Linked DNA regions of Homo sapiens: region 1 is linked to region 2. Evidence: promoter capture Hi-C in human tissues and cell types (Jung and others, 2019). All regions are on one chromosome and are shown on one strand. The core of a region is centred on a gene start or on the middle of the fragment in contact, and the rest is flanking DNA. Distances in the headings are between cores, read along the strand shown. Region 1 has its middle 35 kb from the start of LINC01659. Region 2 holds the start of BCR (BCR activator of RhoGEF and GTPase).

What was found. The method cuts DNA at HindIII sites, captures the fragments that hold promoters and counts their contacts. A contact is called where the count stands out against the background at its distance.
Region 1: a contact is called between a fragment that was not itself captured here and the fragment with the promoter of BCR in region 2, in 1 of the 25 tissues and cell types used here (dorsolateral prefrontal cortex).

What each region holds. Positions count from the first base shown.
Region 1 is chr22:23,397,163-23,400,290 of GRCh38, reverse strand. It overlaps the pseudogene ZDHHC8BP. Among named protein-coding and RNA genes, the nearest start is that of LINC01659, 35 kb to the left of the region's middle. RefSeq lists enhancers at 1-747, 837-1,391. The HindIII fragment of the contact is 6,507 bases long and covers 1-3,128 here.
Region 2 is chr22:23,179,082-23,182,089 of GRCh38, reverse strand. BCR (BCR activator of RhoGEF and GTPase) reads right to left here and starts at 1,581. Exons shown (of 23, transcript NM_004327.4): 1 at 1-1,581. The coding sequence starts at 1,129. It also overlaps a transcript of RSPH14 not described here and the pseudogene BCRP8. RefSeq lists silencers at 1,051-1,130, 1,151-1,420, 1,491-1,730 and an enhancer at 1,851-2,661. The HindIII fragment of the contact is 16,176 bases long and covers 1-3,008 here.

The sequences.
Region 1 (3,128 bases), core at 1-2,500, 220 kb before region 2:
AATCGCAGCCTGTCCTACAATAATGTGCTCAACCCTGGCTCGCCTGGTGGCCACGCCTGCCTCGCCCATCCAGCAGTTGGCGTGGCCGGATACCACTCACCCTACCTGCACCCTGGGGCAACGGGCGACCCACCATGGCCCCTGCCCCACAGCTTCAGTCCCGTGCTGGGCCCCCGGCCCCAGGAGCCCTCGCCTGTGCTCTACGACATCCTGTCCAGGACCATCATGGCATCCATCCAGGAGCGCAAGGACAGGGAGGAGCGTGAGTGCCTGCTGCGCTCCCAGGCCGACTCACTCTTCGGCGACTCAGGCGTCTATGATGCTCCCAGCTCCTACAGCCTGCAGCAGGCCAGTGTGCTGTCTGAGGGCTTCCGAGGTCCTACGCTGTGCTACAGCTCTACAGATGACCTTGTGGCCAGGCCCGGCTTCGGCGGCGCCTGCAACCCTGTCCTGCAGACATCATTGTCCTCGCTTTCCAGCTCCGTGAGCCGTGCACTGCGGACGTCGTCCTCCTCCCTGCAGGCTGATCAGGTCAGCAGCAACGCCCCGGGGCCCCGGCCCAGTAGTGGCTCACACAGGTCGCCCGCACGCCAGGGCCTGCCCTCCCCGCCCGGCACTCCCCACTCACCATCCTACACAGGCCCCAAAGGTGTCACCTTCATCCAAATGGACCTCCTAGAGCCACCGCCCTCGCTGACCGTGCAGAGGTGGGTGCTGGGAGGTGCGGGTGGGCTTCCTGGCACAGGGCAGCTGTCCAGCCGTCTGCAGGGCCCCTCTTGGCTGGGCACTCATAGGTCATCCCAGGGGCCTGAGTTTTTCTCTGGGGACGGGACAGGGAGGATGCGCCTCACCCTGCATTGAAGGCTTTGGCTAGCCCGTGTGGCCCAGCTCTGAGGATGTCCTGGGCATGCTCTGGGGACAGGGTATGAGAATTTGTGTCCTGATCCCAATGACTTGTTCTTCCAGAGCTGGCACAGACCCAGCACGTAGGAGGCCATGGGGCTTTCTCTTTGGGGTCAGTATCATGTGGCAGCCTGGGCCTCCTTTAGGCTGTGGCTCTGGCATCCTGGGTCACAGTGGCCCTGTCTACCCGGTGCTCTCCCTGGGCCTGCTTTGCTGCATCTCTAGGAGGCTGGGGCTGAGGACATTACCTCGCAGCAGAATGTGCCTCCCTGGGTGGCCGGGCCCTGGCCCTCCCTGTGGGACATAGTTCTGGGAAGCAGGGGCTTCCCTGCTCGTAGTGGGGAAACTGAGGACTGGAGAAAGCAGGCTGGCTCCAGGCACCCAGCAGGTTGGTAACTGAGAGAGCGGGGTCAGCTGGCTTGTAGGCCCAGGCCCAGGTAGGAGAGCTGCACACCTGCTGGGGCCAGGACCCACGCCACGGACGCATGGTGTCCTCACGGCATCTGTCGTCTGTCACCCCGTCTGGGCCTGGAAACCTCAAGCACAGGCTCAGCTGTTTCCTGTCGTCAGATGCGGCCCCAGGGGGAGAGCCCAGCCCCGCCCAGCCCAGCCCAGGCCACTTGGCCACAAAGGGGCTGAGGGCACAGCAGTCCAGCCCTGAGGAGGCCTCCCCTACCCCACAGGGTAGGAGTCTGTTCAGCTTTTGTGGAGTTGGGGAGGAGGCTGCCACTGGGAGTGATGAGTGGGGAGCCCGAGACCTAGAAGTGGGCAGCATTGCAGCCAGGCAGGGATCGCAGCCCGGGGACAAAGGGCTCTCACCTTGAGAAGGTTTAAGCAGCAAGGATAGAGCTGCTGTTGGTCAGCGCTGGTGGGCAGGAGGGCAGCCCCTCGTTTTCCTGAGAGAGAGCAGGAATGAGGCCAGGCAGAGTGGCCGGGCTCCCAGTGCAGAGCAGGGCAGGGGCTCCATTCAGTGCCCACCTGACTGCCCCATGCTCTCTGTGGCCAGTGCTGCCTAGGGACCCAGGGACTTGGGAGGGTGGTGGCAGTTCTGACAACATCTGTCCTGTGATGGCACAGCCGCTCCCCAGGCAGGCTCTGCATCTCCCTCCTACTTTCTGGGTGAACCCTCCGAGCCTAGAGGGCAGGGACTGCCCAGGGCCCCACGACATGGCTACACCAGTCCACGTCTGTGTCGTCTCTGTCCTGTTGCCTCCTCCGTCCTCTGTCCCCGTGTTCGTGTGTTCACCGTGTGCATGCGTGTATGTGCTTGTTTTGATGCAGGGACCACCCTCAGCTGAAGACTCCCCCAGGTAAGCTTAATGGGCAGTCTCTGGGCCTGGCCCGGCTGGGACCTGCCACAGGCCCCCCAGGGCCCTCTGCCAGATCTATGTGGCACACGCTGGTTAAGAAGGTGTCTGGCGTGGGTGGGACCATGTACGAGATCCTGGTGTGAGGACTGACCACCACCCATCCGCCGTGGTGCCACGGGGACCAGGACCCCGCAGCACACCCCCGTTCCCCATCAACTTCTCTGCCCCAGGGACCCAAGGCCACCCCAGCCTGGTGTGGACCCATCGGCGGGAGAGAGTGCCACGCCTCCACAGCTTGCCGCAAGCGCTCTGCCTGCCTGTCCACTCATCTGCCCGTCCACTCATCTGCCCATGGGGAAGTTGGCTCACTGGGCCAAGGGCCACTGGGCTGGTCTGTGTCTGGGCCCATCCCATGGCTGGGGCAGTGAGGGGGCCCAGTCAGTCTCTTTGGGGCACGCTCTCTCAGCCAGGCTTGGCTCACTCCCATCACCCATGCACCCCAGGTCATTGCCAGGCCAGCCCCCAACGGTCCCCTTACGGATGGGTCCCAGAGATCGACAGAGGCACCCAGGGCCCCCGCCGTCCTTCCGACACAGCCTGTGGGTTCCCAGACCGAGTGTCCCCAGCCAGGCTACTCCTAACACGTTGCCTTTCATGGACCCCGCTGGAAGCTCGTAGCTTGGCAAGGCCAATGATGCTTCTGCTCTGATCTGCTCTGGGTAGTGGTGGATGGGTGGACAGATGGCCAGCCATGTGTCAGTGTTCCGGCCGCCGCCGTCCCTTTCACCAAAGCCTGAACCTTTTTTTATGCTCTTATGGGAGGCAACGGGGCAGGCGGGAGCAGGCACGGGGGTGATGCTGCCACGGGGCCTGTGACACCCAGAGCCTCCTCCCCAGCCCTCAGGCCCTCCCTGC
Region 2 (3,008 bases), core at 332-2,831:
ACTGTTGCGAGTTCTGCGAGGGAGAGCGGCTTTTGTCCCGGAACATGCGGTAGGTGGTGGGGCTTGGGGACACGCGGCTGGACTGGCCAGAGGAGAAGTCCTCCTCGCTGGAGGTGAGGTTCTCATTGGAGCTGCAGTCCGGGGTATAGCCGCCTCCGCAATCCTCAAAACTCCGGGGGGAGTAGGACCTGCGGGGCCAGGTAAGGCGCTTCTCCTGCTCAGAGGTGCTCTGGCTGCGCAGGAGCGGGCCCTTGCCCTCCCCTTCCATCATGCCCCCGACGTAGATGCTCTGGTAGGGCTGGTACTCCAGGGGCGGCCAAGGGGGCCTGCTACCGCCATTGGCGTCGATCAGGTTGTCCTTCAGGAAGCGGGGGTTCAACTCGGCGTCCTCGTAGTCGCCGTCGACGCCGCAGCTGCTCTCCGAGGAGCGTCCCCGGTAAGGGGGCCTGGATGCATCCCCCACGCTCGAGCCCGCGCCGTGCTGGGACTTTTTGCGCTCCATCTGCATGGCCTGGCTGCCCAGGGAGCTGATGCGGTCCGACACCTCTTTGTCGTTGACCTTCACCAGGCCGCGCTCGTGGTGAAACTCGACGTTCACGTAGAAGGGCTTCTCGGCGTCCGCCCCGGGCTGGCCATGGCCCTTGCGGATCCGCTCGAAGTTGGACCTGAGCGCCGCCACGCTGGCGGGGGGTCCCCGGTCGTCCCGTTCCCCCGACGCGGCTGCCCCGGGCCTGCGGGCGGTCCCGGGCCTGGCCTTACCCGGAGAACCCTCGCCGTCGGGCCGGGCCTCGGGCTCCTCGGCGGGCGGCGGGTCGGCTCCGTCGGCGGGCGCTGGCTGCGGGCGCGACGCGGACGCTCGGGGCTCGGAGGCGCCGTCGGGGGCCTGCGCCGCGCGCCGGAAGCCCCATCGCTGCCGGTCATAGCTCTTCTTTTCCTTGGCCAGCAACGTCTGCAGGTAGATCATGCGGAAGCGCTCCTGGTTCACCTCCTGCTCCAGGCGCCGAATGGAGGCCTTGCAGCGCTCCAGCTCCTGCTCGATGTCGCCCACTGAGCGCAGCTCCATGCGCGGGGGCTCTGAGTCCGGGAACTGCGCCTTCCACGCCTCCGCGAAGCCCACCGGGTCCACCATGGCGCGGCCGGCCTTACCTGCGCCGCCGGGCTGCGCGCGGGGCCCGTCTCAGCGGCGGCGCGGCGCCTCGCCAGCCCGGCCCCGGGCGCCGGGCGGCCCCCATGGCCCGCGCGGCGGCGGCGGCGGCGAACAATGCCCGCCCACTCCCTGGTGGCAGGTGAGGCGGAGCGGGGCGCTCGGCGCGCGGGGCGGGGCGCGCCGGGGGGAAGGGCGCGGGCTGCGCGCGCCGCTATTGTGTGCGGGGCTCCTCCGCACGGCGAGGCGCGGGCGCTGCTCTCCGCTCCGCCAGGCCGCCGCCAGACTCTGGCCACGGCCCGCGCGCTCCTCGCCTCTCGCTTCCGCACCGCCCCACAGCCCCGCCGCCGCCGTGCCGCCGCCGCCGCCGCCGCCTCCTCGGACGCTAAGCTCAGCCAGCCGGCTCTCGCCGCACTCCCGCCCGGCCCGCACTCTGCGCCGCAGGAAGGGGAGGGCCGGGGGGAGGTGGCCGCGGCGCGGATGACGGAGCCAGGCGGGCCTCTTAAAGGGGCCGCGCCGTGGGCACAGGGCGGGGGGGCCCCCTGGAGGCGGCTCCCCCATCGAGCCGCCACCCTCCCCCCGTCCCTGTGCCTTTTGGGAAACTGAGGCCCTAACAACAGCGAATTGGACTGTGCAACTCGCAGCCCAGGGGTCCCCCGTAAAAAAGACACCGGACTCCCTGGTCCATAAAGACCTTTCCAATACAGAGGTCTGGGCCAGTTCTGCAGTCCTGGAACAGGAACACTTGGCTCCCCTCCGGCCAGGAGGACTTCTCCGGCCAGTCCAGCCGCGTGTCCCCAAGCCCCACCACCTACCTCATGTTCCGGGACAAGAGCTGCTCTCTCTGGCAGAACTCGCAGCAGTCCTCCGACAGAAGCAACCTCCCCCCTCTGCCCCTACCACGCCGCAGTGCCATAAGCGTCACCGGCACTGCCCAGTCGTCGTGTCAGAGGCCACCATCGTGGGCATCTGCAAGACCAGGCAGATCTGGCCCAACGATGCGGAGGGCACCTTCCATGGAGACGCAGGTAAGTTCCTCACACCTCACAGCCTGGCCTCTCACCAGCCTCAGGGCTGGGCACACTAGGGACCACCCAGCAGGGCCCAACTCACAGAGAGGCCAGGACCAGGCAGGTCACCCCGCAAGGCAGGGAGGGCCAGGCTGAGTAACCAATGCCAGCACCCTTGTTTCAGCGGGCCTCTCACGTTGTGGATCTGCTGTGGGTGGCTGCCACACGGGTTTGTCACAGCAGGACCACATGATGGATGATAAATAGGGATTTCTCCCTCAGGTCACTCAATACCCACACCTGCCTTCCTGTGTGCTGAGCCATGTGTTTGTCCCCTGGCCTCTCTTGAGCTCCAGAGGTCAATGTAGTTTTTCCAGGACGACCTGACTCAGAACTTCCCTGATTAGCCTCCCTCTAAGGGGGCGGCCAACCTGCACTGAGGTTCACAGGGCTGGGTGGAAGACAGCCCAGAGCAGGGAGTGAAACAAAACCTTTGATGGTTCTCTGGGGACACAGAGATCTGAGACACAGTGGAGAGCACTCTGCAGGGACTCTGATGGGCACAAACTGAAAATACCCAAACCAGCCCGCTGGGTTGGGGGAAAAGGAAACAGGATTTGGCAAATGAATTACTGGGCTTGAGTCCTGACCACCTCTCCCTCTCTGCCTCAGTTTCCTTGAAGTGAGAAGCACATCTGCCTCCAAGTGCTGTTGTCCCTGTGTGGATGTTAGGGATTATCATGCCCTCCTCCCAATGCCAGCGTCATCTGGAGCAGATACTTTGAAGTCCAATCTAAAGGACTGAGCCCAGGCTAGTAGCCAGGCCAGCCCTGCTTGGGTTCAGGGCTTCCTGC